Linked DNA regions of Homo sapiens: all the other regions are linked to region 4. The links are contacts of gene promoters, found by promoter capture Hi-C in blood cells and fetal thymus (Javierre and others, 2016). All regions are on one chromosome and are shown on one strand. The core of a region is centred on a gene start or on the middle of the fragment in contact, and the rest is flanking DNA. Distances in the headings are between cores, read along the strand shown.

Region 1 (3,145 bases), core at 496-2,995, 380 kb before region 4:
TTTTCTTGCCCTAATGTTTAAGAAAAAAACTGAATTGTGTCCATTTATCCTGGCCAGGTTGGTCTCAGGAACCCCTTTACAATTAAATTTACTGAATATCCCCAAGGAGGTTTTATCTTTCTAGGCTTTATCCGTAGATACCATTTTAGAAGCTGAAACTTTTTTTTTTTTTTTGAGACGGAGTCTTGCTCTGTCGCCAGGCTGGAGTACAGCAGCGCAATCTCAGCTCACTGTAACCTCCGCCTCCTGGGTTCAAGCGATTCCCCTGCCTCAGCCTCCCAAGTAGTTGTGATTACGGGCACGTGCCACCACGCCCGGCTAATTTTTTGTATTTCAGTAGAGACAGGGTATTACCATGTTGGCCAAGATGGTCTTAATCTGACCTCGTGATCTACCCATCTCAGCCTCCCAAAGTGTTGGGATTACAGGCGTGAGCCACCGCGCCGGCCAAGAAGCTGAAACATTTTCCAGACAAAAATAACAAGCACACATTCCATCAGCTATCAGAGCAATTACATGATAATGTCATAGCCTCTGGAAAACTCCACTGTAAATTTATGAAAGAATGAAAGTGGAAAATGCGAATGTTCTTATGAACATAGTTTTGACCTCTTGGGCTCCTGAGTCTCGGGCAACCCTAGGGGATTCTGGATCACACTCTTGAGAACCACTAACTAGACTAATAAGTAAATAGTGCCTTTCTGAAAATGAGGGATGGTTTTTTATGTATAGATAGCTTAATCCTTTAGTTCTCGTATATTTTCTTTATATTAGAAGCTCCTGCTACGAAATGCCTACACCGCCCCCAGCCCCCCCAACACACAACATACATAACTTTCCTGTGATTGTCCATTTCTACAATCTCTTAAGTGGTTCTCAATGCTGGCTGCAGAACCACCTGGAAAGCTTTGAATACTGATGCCCAGGCACCACCATAGACCAACTGAATCAATCTTTGAGACACAGACATGGAGTTTTTTGGTAATGCTTTGCCTTTTTGAGTTCCCCAAGGTGATTCTAGCCTACAGTCAGGGGTGAAACCAGTGGCCTGTGGGATTTTAAGGTATAAAGAAGGGAAAAGGGTTGGGAATCTCTGCCAGAGGAAAACAAAAGAGTATAGCAGAACATTCCTTGAATGTATGGCTTTCACCTCCCAACCACTGTGCCTAAATTACCACTTAAACCTCTAAAATAACTCATCTTGAGAAAAGTTTGTAAATGGAATCCTTCAGTATTGATATTAGTAGTCCCTCCCTGGGAAAATCTGGGGTTTTACTAGCACAGAGGAACCCTTAGCATGCATCGGAGTCACTTAGAGGGCTGGTTAAAACATGGATTACTGAGTTTCTGATTTAGCAGTTCTAGAGGGAACTTAAGTTGCATTTCTTTTTTTTTTTTTTCCCCTTGAGACAGAGTTTCACTCTTGTTGCCCAGGCTGGAGTGCAATGGCACGATCTCGGCTCACTGCAACCTCCACCTCCCAGGTTCAAGTGATTCTCCTGCCTCAGCCTCCCGAGTAGCTGGGATTACAGGCACGTGCCACTGTGCCCAGCTAATTTTTGTATTTTTAGTAGAGACAGGGTTTCTCCATGTTGGCCAGGCTGGTCCCAAACTCCTGACCTCAGGTGATCCACCCGCCTCAGCCTCCCAAAGTGCTGGGATTATAGGCGTGAGCTACCGTGCCCAGCCTTAAGTTGCATTTCTAACAAGTTCCCAGATAATGCTGATCCTGCTGATTTGAGGACCATGCTTGGGGACTAACTGCAGAAATCAACAAAAGTTATGGAAAGAATTAGCTTAGTTGCCAACTGACACAGGTCTCAGGAAGTATTTGCCCTGATGAGTTAGTCTGCTGTAGTGCTGCTGAGGCTGGGTTTGGTTCACTAGAAACCCTGTAGATGGTTTGAATTTTTCAGATTCATGTGAAGTTTGTTACTGTACAAGTTTAAACAATAGATGCAGCCAGGCTACAGCCTGAAGAGCTGCATTAGAGCAAATGCCTGCAGGAACAGGGCTATTACCTTTATAGTTTTTGTATTTTTTCATGTCATGACTATCCCTGACTGTTCTAAACTAACAGTCTGATTTTGGGCAAGTACCTTCAGTACCAAAATCTTTTTTTTTTTTTTTTTTTGAGACATAGTCTCACTCTGTCACCCAGGCTGGAGTGTAGTGGCGTGATCTCAGCTCACTGCAACCTCCACCTCCTGGGTTCAAGCAATTTTCTGCCTCAGCCTCCTGAGTAGCTGGGATTACAGGCGCCCGCCGCCATGCCCAGCTAATTTTTTCTTTTTATTTTTAGTAGAGACTGGGTTTCACCAAGTTGGCCAGGCTGGTCTTGAACTCCTGACCTCATGATCCACCTGCCTTAGCCTCCCAAAGTGCTGGGATTACAGGCGTAAGCCACCACGCCCAGCCCCAAAATCTTTTAATAACAATTCTTAGCTCAGATCGTTTGTAAATTCATTCAGTTAATTATTGGGTAGCTGCTATATTCCAGGTATTGTACTAGGGTAGAGGATACGGTTGTCGTTCATATGGGACTTATAGTTTAGTGGGTCGGGAGAAAGAAGAGAAAGCTTTTAGGAAGAACTAGTCTCCCTAGCTACTAACCAGGCCTCCATTCAAGCAATAGATAATTTGATTTGCAACATCGTTCCTGACCCAGACATTTGCTCCTTACAAGAGACAGCCCCATTTAAATTTAAAAGAAAAGGAAATACTCCCTACACAAGACAGATGTTTAACTTATCTTAGACATCCATGGTACCTTATGTAGACCCCTCAGTGGACCTAATTAAGGTCTCCAAACTAGTTAATGACAACAGCAAACATACATCTAAATTAGCTCTCTTGACATGACACCATGTTGTTATAGAAAGGACAAACTTCTTACTCCTATACTGTGTGTCTGAGATGACACAACAAATCCACTGGTAGTTTGTAGAACAGAGGTTGGAGAGAATGGACTAAGTCTCTCAAGCCTGTGGGTAACACAGAGATTGCCCTAGACTCAACCCTCACACACACTTCCCCACCTTCTCACATGCAGGACTGTACCAGGAATTCCTCCACGCAACCCTACACTGTCCTCACACTCAAAATCATCCTATCCTTTGCCTCATTTACTCAGTACCCCTTATAG
Region 2 (3,212 bases), core at 270-2,769, 330 kb after region 4:
ACTGCCTCAAAACTTAGTGGCTTCACCTTTCCGTGTATTATGATGACAAGAATGTGGTATGACACTGTCTTATATCTGGATCATATGCTAAAAGATAGAAAATGGTTTCTAAACTTATTTGTTCTGTAATAACAAAATTTTATTTCATAAAGTGTTTTTAAAAAAAACCATAGTAGCTTGAAACAACAAACCTTTGTTATCTCACACAGTTTCTGTAGGTCAAGAATTCAGAAGCAGCTTAGCTGGGTGGTCTGGCTTGGTGTCTCTCCTGAGGTCAGGGTTTTGGCTGGGGCTGCATCACCTGAAGGCTTGACTGGGGCCAGAGGAGCTGCTTCCAAAGTGGTCCACTCACATGGCTGGCAAGTTGGAGTTGCGTATTGGCAAGAGACTTCGCTTCTTCTCAATGGATCTTCCCAGAGTTCTTGTAGGCAACCTCATAGCATAGCAGTTGGCTTCCCCCAGAGGGAACAGTCCAGGAGAGAACAAGGCAGAAACCACAGGGTCTTTTCTGGCTTAGGCTCCAAAGTCATACTCCACCATTTCTGCATTATCATATTAGTTACACAGGCTAGACCTATTCTGCATGGAAGAGACTATACCATGGGGTGAATACCAGAAGCAGGGCTAATTGAAGGCCAGCTTCAAGGGCGGCTACACATTCCCTTTCAACAGTATGTCATGAACATCTTTCCATGCCAATAGAGCAGATGAATCTTACCATTTTTAATGACTACATGTAAGTGTAGCATAATTTATTTAACCAACCTCCTGTAGTTGGGTATGTGGGTTGTGTCTCGTTTTTTGATAGTAGAATTAATCATCTTGAATATCCATCACCAAACTTGTCATATTATTTTCTTTTGATGAATGAAAAAGAAAATCAAGTCATGTCTGTCAATCAGAACCCTGAGCAACTAAGAAATGGGGGTACCACTGGGACATAGAGCAAGGTCCCTTCTGATTCTGCTCTTGTCTTTCTCTCCCCATGAAATGGGGAGTTCACTATCTACTGAGACATCCTAGCCCACAGCTGCACAGTTCTGTCTTTTTAGAAAGCTCTAAGCAGAAACAATGTTCATCCATCCTCCTCGGGACAGCCCTTGAGCTACTGAAGACTCTAAGCATGTCCTGGTCATCCTCCATGAGCCATCATCTCTGAGGCCCTCCCCTTCTTGGCCCCTCTTCTCTGGACAGGTTCTGGACAGTCTTGCCCTTCCAAAATTCCTGGAAAGCAGGAACTGTTCCTGCTACAATGACTCTCAACTCCAGTGCAGTACAGACTGTTGGTGTCACCCCTTATCCTGAAGAAGAGGCACTGAGACAGGACAAGGGTGGGTGCCCAGGAGGGCTGGCATGAGTCATGAGAATCTGGTCCCGGAGAATTAGACGGTGTGGGGAAGTAGGGGTGTTGGGCCGCTTTCTGGCCTCATGGATGCCAATGAATATCAGCAGGTGGCTCCCAGAAAGGAACTCTAGGGGATGCCTGTTGCTCTAAATAGAGGCTAGAGAGGGCACTGGCAGTTCAGTCAACCAAGAAAGGGGGCCCACTTGCCTCAGCTTCAGGCTTTGTACACATCCTCAGCCTTTCTTGAGAACTGAATTTAGATTCTCCTCCCCTGTGCTGTGTGCTTGGCCCAGAAGAAGGGCAAGTCTCGCTGGGTGGCTGCTTCTTGGCCTGGCTGAACCAGAAGGCCCCAGTGCCACTCCAAACCTGGGTGTGAGCCCTGCCCCCATGAGCAAACAGTAGCTCAGAGCTGGGGGCTGTGGGGGTCAGTGGCCTGTCACATGAGATCTGATGAGGCCATCTCTGCTCTATATTGGGAAAGGGATCAATTGTATCAAGGGCTTTCTTGGGAGTGATCACTCTGGCCATTGGCGAGAGACCTGGCATTCTGACAAGGCACCCTCCATACCCTGACCCACTTGCCAGCTCCAGCTAATTTTAGCAGGCTTTGGCAGGTGCCAGCAAGTACATAGCATGTGGATGTCACTCCCAGGTGAGCCCAAGGAGAGGCCTGGGCCAGAGCCTGGAAGTCATGGTCTATGCCCATGGAGGCACCCAAAGCAAGCCTGAGGCCTGGACTTTGCAGTCACAAAATTAAGAATGATACCCCTGTTTTTTGTTTGTTTTTGATCAGTTGGCCACCTTCCTCCACCACCCCTTCCCCAAGTTCCATACAGACCCCTGGATTGTATGAAATGCAAATCGAACCTCTCTGCAGATGAAAATCCACTGGGGATCCCCTTGCCTCCAAGAGCAAGTCCAGACCTGCACCAGCGCGGGCCAGGCCCCCTTAGGACCCCCTCCCTGTCCAAGGGCATTTCAGTAAGTGTTCTGTGGCCAAGGCAGCCTGGTGACTTTCTGCCCGCACAAGGCTGAGGAATGGAAGATGGGTAGGCTGGCTCTGCACACCCCCTCCTGCTGGGCAGCAATCCCTACCCCATGTTCACAGAGTGTGGCCGGCTGCCCCATGGCTCTGTCCCCGTGGCCCTGTCAACTGTTACCCACATGGCCTACCCTCCCTTTCTGCCCTGCCTCTGACCCCATGGCAGGGGGCAGAGTATTTGAGCAGCCGCCAGGCTGAGCCCTTTCAGTGCAGAAGCCCTGGGCTGCCAGCCTCAGGCAGCTCTCCATCCAAGCAGCCGTTGCTGCCACAGGCGGGCCTTACGCTCCAAGGCTACAGCATGTGCTAGGCCTCAGCAGGCAGGAGCATCTCTGCCTCCCAAAGCATCTACCTCTTAGCCCCTCGGAGAGATGGCGATGGATGTCACAAGGAGCCAGGCCCAGACAGCCTTGACTCTGGTAAGGGTCACACCAAAGTTAGGGACTTTGCACTGGGAGAGCAGCACCCAGGGCAGGGCCCTTGGTTTTGCAGATTACCAAAACTAAGGCTGGGGGCAGGGAAGGCGAGCAGGCTTGGGGCACCTTGGAAGGAGGCACATGGGCCTTGGGGGTCCTGGCTAGGGCAGCTGTGCCTGCCACTGGCCCTCTGCCCACCACCCCTCCTCACTGTGGCTATCCAGTGTCCAGCCTCTCGAGGGGTTCTAGGGTACTTATTCCTGGAGCTAACGGTGACCCAGGACACCAGTGTCCGGGGCCTGGCCTGGGGCTTTTATGGGGGGAGCTGGCTGGCTGCCCAGGGCTGTCTGGCTCTCTGGGGGCTCTGCATGGCATTTCCAGGGGTTGGTGGATCAGGGATTCTGTCCCTCAG
Region 3 (2,928 bases), core at 312-2,811, 340 kb before region 4:
GGCCACATCTGTACAAAACAGGCCCTCCTTTCAGGAACTGGTCTCGAGAGAGCAAAGGGGTCAACTCCCTAAATGGCAGCTGAGACAGTCCTCCCTGGTGGCATGGCCCTGTTTCCTGTTGATATGGTGATAGTTGGAGAGTCAAATTTTTACCAGAATTTGTGAATATCATCTCTGGTTAATGATTACACAAAACCTTTTAAAATTTTAAAAAATTATTTCTAATTCTATAAATAAACTCTGCAGTTGTACAGCCACTGTACAGCTAACATCTCAACACTGGAAATGAGGCTGGTTTCTTCCAGTTTGGCTCAGATTCTTCAGGGAAGCCCAGTTAAGACAAACAGCTCTCTATACTCAATCCTTACTTTGCTGAGAAGATACAGGCCTGCCCACTCGCTCCCACCTGCTCTTCACGAGGAGTCCTTTATTCCTGCATGTTTCCTGTTCTTTGGGACCTTTAGGAGCTAACCTCCACAGATGCTGATAGTCTGTAGAGTCAGGAATACCATGTAACATGTTGAAGTAGACTAAAGATTAGTTCTTTGGCAATAGCCCAGTCTGGACTTACTATGTACTTTTGAAAATAAAACTGCTTATTTGTAAACTCTGTAATTAGGACCTTTTGCTATTTGAGTTATATTCCTTTCTAACTTCAAACGTCTGCATTCATGTATAATAGCCATTTTATGCACAGATGAGGTGATTCCCACACTTTTTTTCGCAGATGTTTCATTATCTGGATGAGTGTATTACATAATAAATTTGAATAATGGTAGTCTTCCAAATGACAAAAAGCAAGCTAGTTGATTTGTCAATTTTGAGTTTAAATGTTTTGACTGCTTATCAGCAAAAAAAATCAAAGAATAGCATACTAATATTAATGGAAATGCAGAGTATATTTAATTGGCATGATTTTTTCATGGATGTGTGCTTCATTTGATCTATTGTATGTAGCTCGTGATCACATTTTCTGTTGGTTAACATTGTTCCTAGCTTATATGATGGAATTAAATATATTCTGTGTAAAAAGAGGTATGGACTAAATATTTCTGGACGATGGCTTTCAGCTTTAGAAACTCTGAGAAAGGGCTGGGTGTGGTGGTGCACACCTGTAGTCCCAGCTACTTAGCAGGCTGAGTAGGATTGCTTGAGCCTGGGAGGTCAAGGCTGCAATGAGCTATGACCATGCAACTGCACTCCAGCCTGAGCAACAGAGTGAAATCCTGTCTTTAAAAAAAAGAAGAAGAAGGAGAAACTGAAAAAGTGAGTCCTCCCATCTCTGAAGGTGTTGGAGGAGAGGGTGGGCCTAACCAGCCCTGGCCACTCTCAGGCCACACTCTGCTGAAGAGCCTCAGGCTCCTCTCAGTTTTCCATCTCCACAGCAAGAAGGCAATAATACTTCATTTTACAGATGAGGAAATTCAGGCAGAGGAAGATGATTCAACATCCCAGGGTCACATAATCTGAAATGGGAAAGTGCTGAGAATCTGGTCTGTTTAGCTCCAAAACTTAAGTTTTTTTCCTATGGAAGGGGAAGGTCACTAAACATTTCTTTGAAAACCTACCAGCCTGCCTTATGTGGATTTAGCTCATTTAACCCCCTGAATAAATCTGGGAAATAAATACCAGCCTCATTTTACAAGCAAAGAAATTCAGATTCAGAGATGTTAGATACAGCCTGGCGCGGTGGCTCACGCCTGTAATTCCAGCACTTTGGGAGGCAAGTGGATCACTTGAGGTCAGGAGTTTGAGACCAGCCTGGCCAACAAGGTCTACCAAAAAATACAAAAATGAGCCAGGCATGGTAGCACGTACCTGTAGTCTCAGCTGCTCGGGAGGCTGAGGTGGGAGAAATTGCTTAAACCTGGGAGATGGAGGTTGCAGTAAGCCAAGATTGTACCACTGCACTCCAGCCTGGGTGACAGAGTGAGACTCTGTCTCAAAAAAAAAAAGAGATGTTAGCCCAAGCCCAGGGTTACATGGCTCCAGTTGGTGACACAGGAATCTGAACCCAGGTCAGTCTGACCACAAATCCAGGTCAGTGCAAAAAGTCACGAGTCTGCTCAAGGGGGTCTGCAGCTGGCCCGTGGACATGCGATGGCACTTACATTCTTCTGGTTTGCTTGAGGCCACATATAGAAAAGTATCTATAAAGCCCTCATGTTAATGTCTCACATGTAGAGCCAGGTGGCCTTTTGAGCTTAGGTAGCTTTGTGCCTATTTATCGTCTGGGCTTTCAAAAAGAGTTTGTGGAATAGGTATATATGAGAGGTACATGTATTTCCTGGATGGACAGAAGCCGTGACTCCCTGTTTAGTATGGAGCCAGGCAAGTCTGGCACTCAGTATTCAGTTTAGCACTTCCTGCACACAGGCAGGCTCATCTAGTCTCCAGCCCAGCCCTACAAGCCCCTCACATGCCCAGAATGCCAGTGGGAAACTAACACTCTGGGAATTGCCTATAAGCCTGTAGACTCCATAGCCTCCTGCCACAGCTGAGTGTGAGTGTGGACCTCAGCAGCTGAGGAACTCTGCTCCAAGGCTTTGCTTGGTGGAGTTCAGCAGCAAAACCCTATGTGACAGCCTGTCCTGTCAAAAACTTGCTCCTGCTCCCACACAAGCTGCCTTTTTTTTCTCTTATCAGGAGCATCAATTCCTCAATCCCCATTCCGCTTTTACTGCCTCTGCCCACTTCCTGCTATCTTCTTCCCCAACTCTGAGTACAGCCACATACTTCTGGAAACTCATGATAATCTGTTTCAGATATTCTTCCTGGAGCACATTCATACTGTATTCACACATTGCAGAGCACACATTCTGACCTTCAGTTCTGACCTTTTCTTCAGATTTACACACATCCTTTCATTTTCCACTAGCTCCCTATGCTCTTGTAGTCACCTCCTAATTACCCAGTTTTGTTTGTTTT
Region 4 (3,219 bases), core at 368-2,867:
GCAGATGTGAGAATCTTGTGGTCTTCTTTTTTTTTGTGGAGACGGAGTCTAGCTCTGTCGCCCAGGCTGGAATGCAGTGGTGTGATCTCGGCTCACTGCAACCTCTGCCTCCCGGGTTCAAGCGATTCTCCTGCCTCAGCCTCCAGAGGAGCTGGGATTACAGGCACCTGCCATCACGCCTAGCTAATTTTCGTATTTTTAGTAGAGACAGGGTTTCACTGTGTTGGCCAGGCTGGTCTCGAACTCCTGATCCTCCCGCCTCGGCCTCCCAAAGTGCTGGGATTACAAGCATGAGCTACTGTGCCGGCCAAATCTTGCTGTCTTCTAGTAGGCTCATTAAAGAGATTTGCAAAAATGTAAAACTATGTTACTCCTCTCACTGAACTTTTATTGCTTTGAAGAACATTATTTTTTGCATAAAAGTATGTTAACATGTAATGTGTTTTATGGTCATTTAAAAATGATTAAATAAATATTTAAACATTTTATGTTTTAATTTCTAATGTGGTAAATATTGATAAGCATAACCCATATCAACAAATGTTCTTTGGAATGTTCAACAAATTTTAAGAGGATTAATGGTCCCTAAATCAAGAGTTTCAGAACCACTGTTCTAGGGCAATTTACCTGAGTTGGATTTTATTTACAATTCATTAAAGCTTATACACTATGAAGACATGTTAACTTGCATGTTTTAATCTAGAAGAGGTGCAAATCATTTCTATACACTAGAAATGATAATCTATGGTTTTATCATCTTGTAGAACACCAGCCAGCTTTGTATCCAACCTAATCTTACTCTAATGCTTTGTCAAAATGTTTAATCTCCACTTCCTCAAAATGCTTTTGAACCAGCTTTACCATATCATTGTTAATTTGCTGAAGAAATCTTGGATATGTGTTCATGATATATTTGTATGAGTGTCATGCTTTTTACTTTTTTAAGATTATACTTTGACAGACACTAACAACATATGTATATATGACGTATATATGTATATACATACTATACACACACATACACGTACATATTTCACAACGATGGCATACGGATTCTCTATTCTGAATCTAGCTCTTTCCACTTAATATACGTTGAATGCACTCTTTATTTTCTTCGTCATCTTGACTTTCTTCTGATGCAACGCCCTGAGTTTAACTCACAGATCTGTTAATAAGAAACCCATACATCCCACATATACGCATTTTCCCGTCTCTGGCTCACTAACAAAAAGCTTACCCTAGCCCCATCTTTAACCATAGGTTCCAAATACCCAGGCTGGAATTCAACACAGAAATAAGAAAGGATCCACAGACAACGTGACAAAAATCCGAGCAGTCACGTGACACTGCACGCCCCATAATTTTTTTCCGCCCGCTTCAAACATGGCGGTCAAGCCCTCGCAGCGCAGCAGAAGCCACGGGCTTCCTTCCGCGTAGGAACCTCCTTGCTGCCCTTGTCGGGCTCTTTTGTCTAAGACCACCTCAAGGCAAAGCCCGTGGGGCAGCTGGGTCTGGGGAAAACAGCCCGGGGCCGCGGGGGCCGAACGAGCACGGACCGGAAGTTCCGCAGCCGCGCCGTCCGGCGGAGCCGTTGGCTGCGGACGCCGGAAGTGGCCAGTCGGCAGGTCTGAGGCGGCGCTGTGTGTGTGAAGCGTACCTAGGGCGGGAGGCGACATGGAGACAGGGGCGGCCGAGCTGTATGACCAGGCCCTTTTGGGCATCCTGCAGCACGTGGGCAACGTCCAGGATTTCCTGCGCGTTCTCTTTGGCTTCCTCTACCGCAAGACAGACTTCTATCGCTTGCTGCGCCACCCATCGGACCGCATGGGCTTCCCGCCCGGGGCCGCGCAGGCCTTGGTGCTGCAGGTGAGGCGGGCGGGCCTGCGGTCTGGGGAGCCGCCGCCCCCGGCCTGCCCTGACTCCTGGCGCCCGCTCCTCCAAGCTCTCCCAGCCTGTTTCCTCCTTTTCCTGGTGTCCTGGGGTTGAGCTTGTGAGAATGGCTTCAGTAATTTGAAGCGCGGATTGGATGTCAGCTTATTCCGCTGAGGTGTTCGCTCCGGACGTCCTGAGGTTTCAGAAGTAGTAAGCCGACTGTTAAGAGCCCTACTCAGCACCCGCCAGCGCGTACCCCTCACGGTGCTGGGGGCCGCTAGTCAGGGAGCGAAATCCATGCAGGCCAGACAGAAGGAAGGACATTTACAGCAACAGAAACGTGCATGCCCCAGAACTACCAAAGACTTGAGCTGGCGGGGATGACGGAGGCATTGTGTTGATCAATGGGTGTGGTCGCTTGTTTGAAATGTGACTTCCCAGGTCAAAGACTGTCAATGTAGTGCTTATTAAAATTTCTATTTGAGCTTAATTCCGTACCCTCCAGGTTAAGTTTATTGTATGTTGGAAACGCTGTCAATACTCATTCAGTGAAGTTGACTGGGCACTTTTGAATGTAGTGGTAAGCAACCTTTTGCTGAATGTAGTTTACACTCTTAGTTGCCGCAGGTGAGGGTGATACGGGTGTTTAAGTAATGGTTTCTCTCTCCTTGTGACACAGTTAAAGAGAGAAAACCCAGAAAGTAATAGAAAACTTTTTAAGGGCAATTATTTGATGGAGCCCATTGTAAAGAAAGGAAATAGAAATGATGGTTGAGAAGTGAAGTTTTTATAAGAGAGGTGGGACTTCTGATGAGATTAAAAGAAACTATTCAGCCAAGTATTAAGCCTATTTGTAGAAACCCAAGAAGATAGAAATGCTGATGATACCTCCCTCAGTTCTCTAGATGTTACAGTTTATAAAATGCTTCAGATGTTTCCTCCTGAAGTCTTAATGCATGCTGCAGGTTGGTAAGATGTTACTTTCCTCAGCAGAAGCCAAAGCTTTGAATGTCTTGGTAGCTACCAGGGTAATAGGGCCAAACGAGGAATGGGGTTCCATTAGGATTCAATTTCAGAACTTAAGGCTATTCCTCGTCCTTGTCAGTGGCATAAGTGCCATCTTAGTGATGAGAGAGCTGTTGGAGGTGGCCTTTAGCAGGATCTTATGGCAGGTTAATGAAGTCTTGCCATTTGATCTTCAGTGTCTCTGTGAAACAGATAAGTTTCAAGTTTACGTACCAATTCAGCAAGGTTAAGTGATTTGACCAAGAACACACAGCCAGTTCACCGTAGAGCTGAAACTAAAAATTTCATTTTGTGGATTCCAAATCTTCCTGTTCTGTTGTT
Region 5 (2,927 bases), core at 314-2,813, 350 kb after region 4:
AAAAATGAATTAATTAATTAAAAAAAGAAAAAAAAAACACTGGGCAGGGTGGTGTGCACCTGTAGTCCCAACTACTCCAGAGGCTGAGGCAGGAAGGAGCACTTGAGCCCAGGAGGTTGTCTGCAGTGAGCTCTACTCATGCCACTGCACTCCAGCCTGGGTGACAGAGCTCAGTGGCTTACACCTGTAATCCTAGCACTTTGGGAGGCTGAAGCAGGCAGATCACCTAAGATCAGGAGTTCGAGACCGGCTGGCCAACATGATAAAACCCCGTCTTTACTAAAAATAAAATAAAATAAAAAATATATATAAAAATTAGCTGGGTGTGGTGGCACATGCCTATAATCCCAGCTGCTTGGGAGGCTGAGGAACAAGAATGGCTTGAACCCGGGAGGCAGAGGTGGCAGTGAGCTGAGATCGCGCCACTGCACTCCAGCCTGTGCGAGAGTGAGACTCTGTCTCAAAAAAAAAAAAGGGAATTTAAGAAATTTAAAAGAAAACTCTTGTTATATAAAAAGGGTATTGGGTCTGACAGATAAGAGCTCCTGCACTCTACCAGCCAGCTACTGACAGACATAGGTCTGGCTCCAGTGGAGGGGCAGCAGCCAGTGAGCCCAGCCTGGGGTGGCCCACTCCTGCTGCCTCCAGGATGTCCCCTGTTTCCCCAGCCCCTCTGCTGTGCCCTCGGCCCCAGAAGCTGGCGAGACTGCTTCTCTGGAACAGCATCACGCAGGCCTGCCCATCGGCCCACTGTGCACCAGGCCTTCTGGGGATACAGATGTCAACCAGGTGGGGTGCTCAGGAGGGGCACAGAAGCCAGGAATGACAAACACATCAGCCACCAGGCAAATGGGAAATGTGCCCCAGAAGCTCCCTGCTGAGGATGTTAGGGAGAGCATTCTGAAGTAGTGTGGTTGAGATGAGGCTTGAGGAAGGCAAGGCTCCAAACAGCAGGGCAGACTGGGAGCAAGGTAGACTGCATGGGAGGGCAGCTGATGGAGCTCCTTAACCCTCTGGAATTGCCCCAAAGCCAAGCAAAGTGTTCTTCTTGGGGTCACAGCTAGCTCAGGGATGCCTTCTGCCCCTTGGTCAGAGGGGCAAAAGGTCAGAGCCTAGGGTCACCAAAACCTCTGGGAAGCCCCGGGGGTCTCAGGCCACAGACCATCCTCAGAACTACACACTGCCCTCCCATGCCTGGCGGGGGCCCTGGACTGGCCCTCACCAGCTGTCTTCTTGCACTGGCCAGGGTTCTGGCTGGACTGGCAAGGAGGGGTGGTCAGATACAGGAGTAACTGGATCCCTTCATCAGGACCTAGGGTGGTGAGAGCTTTGAGCCTGCTCTGCTCCAGGCAGACATTGTGTCTGGCCCTGCCAGGATGGATAGACAGCAGGATGTTACACGTTGAGGACATGAAGGTCATCAGGAATGTGGCTGGAATCTGTTAGGCCTCCCCCAGCCCAGGCGGGGGCTGCCAAGTTTGGGCCTATCCTCTGTTCCTCTCCTTATTTGGACCTTCAGGTGATAAGGCTGAGACATAAAGGAGGCTGGGCCCTGCCACCACGACAGCAGCCACACCTCTGCAGAGAGAATGGTGAGTGCCTGCTGGGGAAGAAAGGCTAGCGGTCTCCCAGGTGCTGGCCTTTGGGCTGGGGGAGCAGAGTTTTCTGTGCTTGTGTTGGGTTGAGGGTGGTCCCCAGGGAGAGGAAGAGGATCCTGGCCCTGGCTCTCCTGGGAATGCTCTGGGACTGTGCATGATGGGTGGGGTGGGGAGACTCTGAGGAGTTGGGGAGAGGACCCCTCCCTACTCACAGTGTTGCAGGCCAGCAGGAAGGCGGGGACCCGGGGCAAGGTGGCAGCCACCAAGCAGGCCCAACGTGGTTCTTCCAACGTCTTTTCCATGTTTGAACAAGCCCAGATACAGGAGTTCAAAGAAGTGAGTGCCCACTCCCAGTAGCCTCAGATCCCATCCTGGCCCCCCCACCCCACCCCACATACATACCCCCCTTCTACCCTGACCTTGCCTCTCACACCACCCAGGTCTCTCCCCCACCTCCCACCTTCCCTAGAGCTGGGGGCTGCTCCCACCTGAAGGCCCCCATCCCACAGGCCTTCAGCTGTATCGACCAGAATCGTGATGGCATCATCTGCAAGGCAGACCTGAGGGAGACCTACTCCCAGCTGGGTGCGTGCACCCACCTCCCACCCTGCGCACTGGGGTCCCTACTCTGAGCTGCTGGGCGGGTGGGAGTGGCTGGGGGGACAGGACTCTGCTCCCCTGCTTCCCCTCCTCCCCGTCTCCTCACACTGCCCTTCCCCCCTTGTCACGCCTTGCTTCCACTTCACCTTCCCGACCCACAGCTGCCTCTGCCCCTCCAGCCCCTGTGGCCAGGATGGAGGGAGGGCGGCCTGGGCCTTCTGGGGGACACCCAGGGTCCCTGTGTGCACCTCATGCCCCACCCCCACCAGGGAAGGTGAGTGTCCCAGAGGAGGAGCTGGACGCCATGCTGCAAGAGGGCAAGGGCCCCATCAACTTCACCGTCTTCCTCACGCTCTTTGGGGAGAAGCTCAATGGTGAGCCTGGGACAGAGCTGGGCACCCTTGGCCAGGCAGGGAGCCTGCACCCTGCCTGAACCCCACCTGAACCCTGCCTGAACCCCACCTGAACCTTACATGAACCCCACCTGAACCCTAACTGAACCCCACCTGGACCCACCTGGACTCTTCCTGGCCATGACCCATTCCAAGCACATCCTCTGCCCCAGAATCCCATGTGCACTGGTCACCCCAGTGCTGACTTGGAGCCAGGAAATGTGCCTTCAGCCCCCACCCCCAAATTCCAGTCTCCCAGCCAAGCTGCCCGCCTCAGGAGGATGACCATTCCCAGCCCCACTGATCCCCGAGAAACATTTTATGTTAGGGAATACCC
Region 6 (3,000 bases), core at 391-2,890, 260 kb after region 4:
AGGCCCCCTGTCCTCCCCGTGTAAGTAGTGGCCCCCAGGCCTGCCGCCTCTGCTGCCGGACAGCTCCCTGCGAATGGCCGGCGCTCAGCAGCTTCCCACCTGCATGCACGGCCCAGCTACCCTGCCCCGGCGCCGCAGCCTGGAGTCCTGCCCTGGCGGGGCTTCCTGTGGGCTCCCATGCTAACCAGCAGGGCAGCTCCTGGCTTCTCCCTAAGGGGCCCAGACCCCTCCACGGCTCCTGCTCCCACTGCCACTCCCCGCTCGCTGTCCAGCCCCAGGCCCCTCTCCAAAATGTCTGTCCCAGCCCTGGGCAGCCCTGGCCCCTCCGAGGCCCCCCATGCCCCTAGGCCCTCTCTGCTGATCACTGTCCCAGCCCCACAGACTTCACACCCACCCAGGGGCCCTGCCCATGGTGCCCAGGAGCTGCACTCAGGGCCACCCTGGTTCCTGATGTGGCCCCAACCCCTGAGCACCCTCCCTCAGTCTAGGAGGCTGAGGAAGGTGCCAAAACTGGAACCCCGACCAGGGTCTCTGGAGCTCACCAACAAGGGGATAGTACGGAGAATCATAAGCCTGGCCTCTGCTGACCTGGGCTGTCCTCATGGGGCCAGGCCAGGCCTCCTCTGTAACGCCCGTGACTCCCTCCTCTCCCTGTAACCCCGTCCAGCGTTCCTCAAGGGCCACTTACCTGACAGCTTCTTGCTGGCCAGCAGCCTCTCCCTGGAGGGTGCCCTCTGCCCCCAGCAGCTTCAGCCCACGCCACCCGACAGCCAGAGCATCTGCCCTTCACTCCTGCAGCCTCCTCTCCACGCACCACGCTGTCCGCAGCAGCACCCTCTGTCCCCCTGTCTCCCTCCGTCCCCCCATATCCCCCTCGGTCAGCCTACAACCTCTCCACGTCCCCCTAAGTCCACGCTCTATCCCTACATCCCCCTCTGTCCCCCAAATTCCCCTCTTTCCCTCATTTCCATTTTCCTCCCCAAACTCTGCTCTGCCCCTCACATTCTCCCTCTGTCCCCCACACCCTCCTCTGTCCCCCAGACTCTCCCTCTGTCCCCCACACCCTCCTCTGTCCCCCATATACCCCTCTGTCCCCCACACCCACCTTGGTCCCTTCACGCCCTTTTCTGTCCCCCACACCCCCTCTGTTCCCTACACTCTCCCTCTGTCCTCCAGACCCTCCTCTGTCCCCCACACTCCCTCTGTCCCCCACACCCCCTGTCCCCCACACTCTCCCTCTGCCCCCCAGACCCTCCTCTGTCCCCTACACTCCCTCTGTCCCCCATATCCCCCTCTGTCCCCCACACCCTCCTCTGTCCTCCACCCCCTGCCCCCCATACCCCCTTCTGTCCCCCACACTTCCTCTGTCTTCCACACCCCCTCCTGTCCCCCACACCCCCTCTGTCCCCCAGACTCTCCCTCTGTCCCCCACACTCCGTCTGTCCCCCACACCTCCTGTCTTCCACACCCCCTTCTGTCCCCCACACCCCCTCTGTCCCCCATACTCTCCTCTGTCCCCCACCTCCCCCTCTGTTCCCCACACCGCCTTCTGTCCCCCACACCCCCTCTGTCTTCCACTTCCCCTCTGTCCCCCACATCCCCCTCTGTCCCCTGCACCCTCCTCTGTCCCCTGCACCCTCCTCTGTCCCCTGCACCTCTCTCTGTCCCCCACATCCCCCTCTGTCCTCCACACTCCCTCTGTCCCCCACATCCACCTTGGTCCCCTCACGCACCCCCATCCCCCATGACCCCTTCTGTCCCCCACACCCCCTCTGTCTTCCACACCCCCCTCTGTCCCCCACACCCACCTTGGTCCCCTCATGCCCCCCATCCCCTACACCCCCACTTTGTCCCCCCACATGCCCCTCTGTCCCCCACGTTCCCTTCTGTCTCCCACGTCTCCTCCATTTCCCGTTTCCCTCTCTGTCCCCCAAGCTCCCCTCCATCCCCCACATCCCCTTCTTTCCCCTATATCCCCTCTGTCGGCCCAGGTCCACCATCTTCCCCCCACACCCCCCCATTCTCCCTTCCTCCCCTCTGTCCCCTTGTGCCCCATCCCCCACATCTGCCTCTGTGCCCCTCAATCTCTGGCTTGGCTGTCTGCCCATGGTTTCTCTCCTGCGTGCCCCCCGTGCCTGCCTTGTGTTCACGTCTCGTCTGTTCCGCCCCAGCCCCCAGGATCTCTGACATCCTGAACTCTGTGAGGAGGGGCTCAGGGACCCCAGAAGCCGAGGGCCCCTCGCCAGTGGGGCCCCCGCCCTGCCCATCTCCGACTATCCCTGGCCCCCTGCCCACCCCATGTAAGTAGCACCTTGAGTGGCCGTGGCAGCGGCTGCCCGGAGGGGCTCGGGGCGTGCGAGCCTGGCAGTGGTGCTCTGGGAAGGGCCATTCTTGCGGAGGAGGGCGGGGCACAGGATCCCTCTGCTGGGTCCCAGGGAATTGCTTTGAAGCACATGAAGGTGCCACTGGGTCTCAGAAAATGGAGGTTATGGTTATGAAGTGTGTATGACATATGTGTATAGGAAGAGCGTCCGAAAGAGCAGGTTTGTTGCCGACCCCAGCATTCGCAACCCTGAGGTCCACAGCTTTCTCCTGATGGGAGGGGAATGGGTGGCAAAGGGTCTGCGCGTGTGGCAAGGGCTAGCACGCCAGGAGCTGCTGGCTTGGGTCAAGGTGGACCTGCTGGGCCGGGACAGAAAAGTGTCAGTCCCGGCCTGAGACGCTCTAGCATTAGAGCTGTCCAAGTCCAGACAGCAGGGAGCAGGTGGGGATCGGGAGGCGCGGATCTGGGGGGCAGCTGGGGCCAGGCTGAAACAGAGCGGGCGGGACAGGAAGCACAGGCTGGGCAGCCTCCCCGGCCAGGGAGGAGCCAGGCTGGGCCACCTCCCGGTCTGTCTGCCGACTACCCGCAGTATCACTTACAGGGATGGATGACATCCCAGGGCTGCTGCCACCCCCACCTGTGGGGAGACACCAGACTGGGGGTGGTGTGGAGATACT

Evidence for each region. The method cuts DNA at HindIII sites, captures the fragments that hold promoters and counts their contacts. A CHiCAGO score of 5 or more calls a contact.
Region 1: a fragment that was not itself captured here is called in contact with the fragment with the promoter of NUDCD3 in region 4 in 1 of 17 cell types (naive B cells); the score reaches 5.3 in naive B cells.
Region 2: a contact is called between a fragment that was not itself captured here and the fragment with the promoter of NUDCD3 in region 4, in 5 of 17 cell types (M0 macrophages, M1 macrophages, endothelial precursors and 2 more). The highest score is 7.5, in M0 macrophages.
Region 3: a contact is called between a fragment that was not itself captured here and the fragment with the promoter of NUDCD3 in region 4, in 1 of 17 cell types (monocytes). The highest score is 5.5, in monocytes.
Region 5: a contact is called between the fragment with the promoter of MYL7 here and the fragment with the promoter of NUDCD3 in region 4, in 16 of 17 cell types (fetal thymus, M1 macrophages, activated CD4 T cells and 13 more). The highest score is 16.1, in fetal thymus.
Region 6: a contact is called between a fragment that was not itself captured here and the fragment with the promoter of NUDCD3 in region 4, in 5 of 17 cell types (endothelial precursors, M0 macrophages, M1 macrophages and 2 more). The highest score is 12.9, in endothelial precursors.

What each region holds. Positions count from the first base shown.
Region 1 is chr7:44,872,790-44,875,934 of GRCh38, reverse strand. No RefSeq gene overlaps it. Among named protein-coding and RNA genes, the nearest start is that of MIR4657, 7.4 kb to the left of the region's middle. The HindIII fragment of the contact is 1,673 bases long and covers 909-2,581 here.
Region 2 is chr7:44,158,664-44,161,875 of GRCh38, reverse strand. All of the region lies in intron 1 of GCK (glucokinase), which reads left to right. Among named protein-coding and RNA genes, the nearest start is that of MYL7, 19 kb to the right of the region's middle. The HindIII fragment of the contact is 6,327 bases long and covers 1-3,212 here.
Region 3 is chr7:44,824,895-44,827,822 of GRCh38, reverse strand. It overlaps a transcript of H2AZ2 not described here. Among named protein-coding and RNA genes, the nearest start is that of H2AZ2, 22 kb to the left of the region's middle. The HindIII fragment of the contact is 3,658 bases long and covers 1-2,928 here.
Region 4 is chr7:44,489,056-44,492,274 of GRCh38, reverse strand. NUDCD3 (NudC domain containing 3) reads left to right here and starts at 1,617. Exons shown (of 6, transcript NM_015332.4): 1 at 1,617-1,866. The coding sequence starts at 1,675. RefSeq lists a silencer at 1,866-2,035. The HindIII fragment of the contact is 1,642 bases long and covers 1,235-2,876 here.
Region 5 is chr7:44,139,968-44,142,894 of GRCh38, reverse strand. MYL7 (myosin light chain 7) reads left to right here and starts at 1,563. Exons shown (of 7, transcript NM_021223.3): 1 at 1,563-1,592; 2 at 1,821-1,934; 3 at 2,108-2,183; 4 at 2,468-2,572. The coding sequence starts at 1,590. RefSeq lists an enhancer at 1,909-2,751. The HindIII fragment of the contact is 19,152 bases long and covers 1-2,927 here.
Region 6 is chr7:44,225,816-44,228,815 of GRCh38, reverse strand. It overlaps CAMK2B (calcium/calmodulin dependent protein kinase II beta), which reads left to right. Exons shown (of 24, transcript NM_001220.5): 19 at 1-20; 20 at 2,172-2,300. Among named protein-coding and RNA genes, the nearest start is that of YKT6, 26 kb to the right of the region's middle. The HindIII fragment of the contact is 6,943 bases long and covers 1-3,000 here.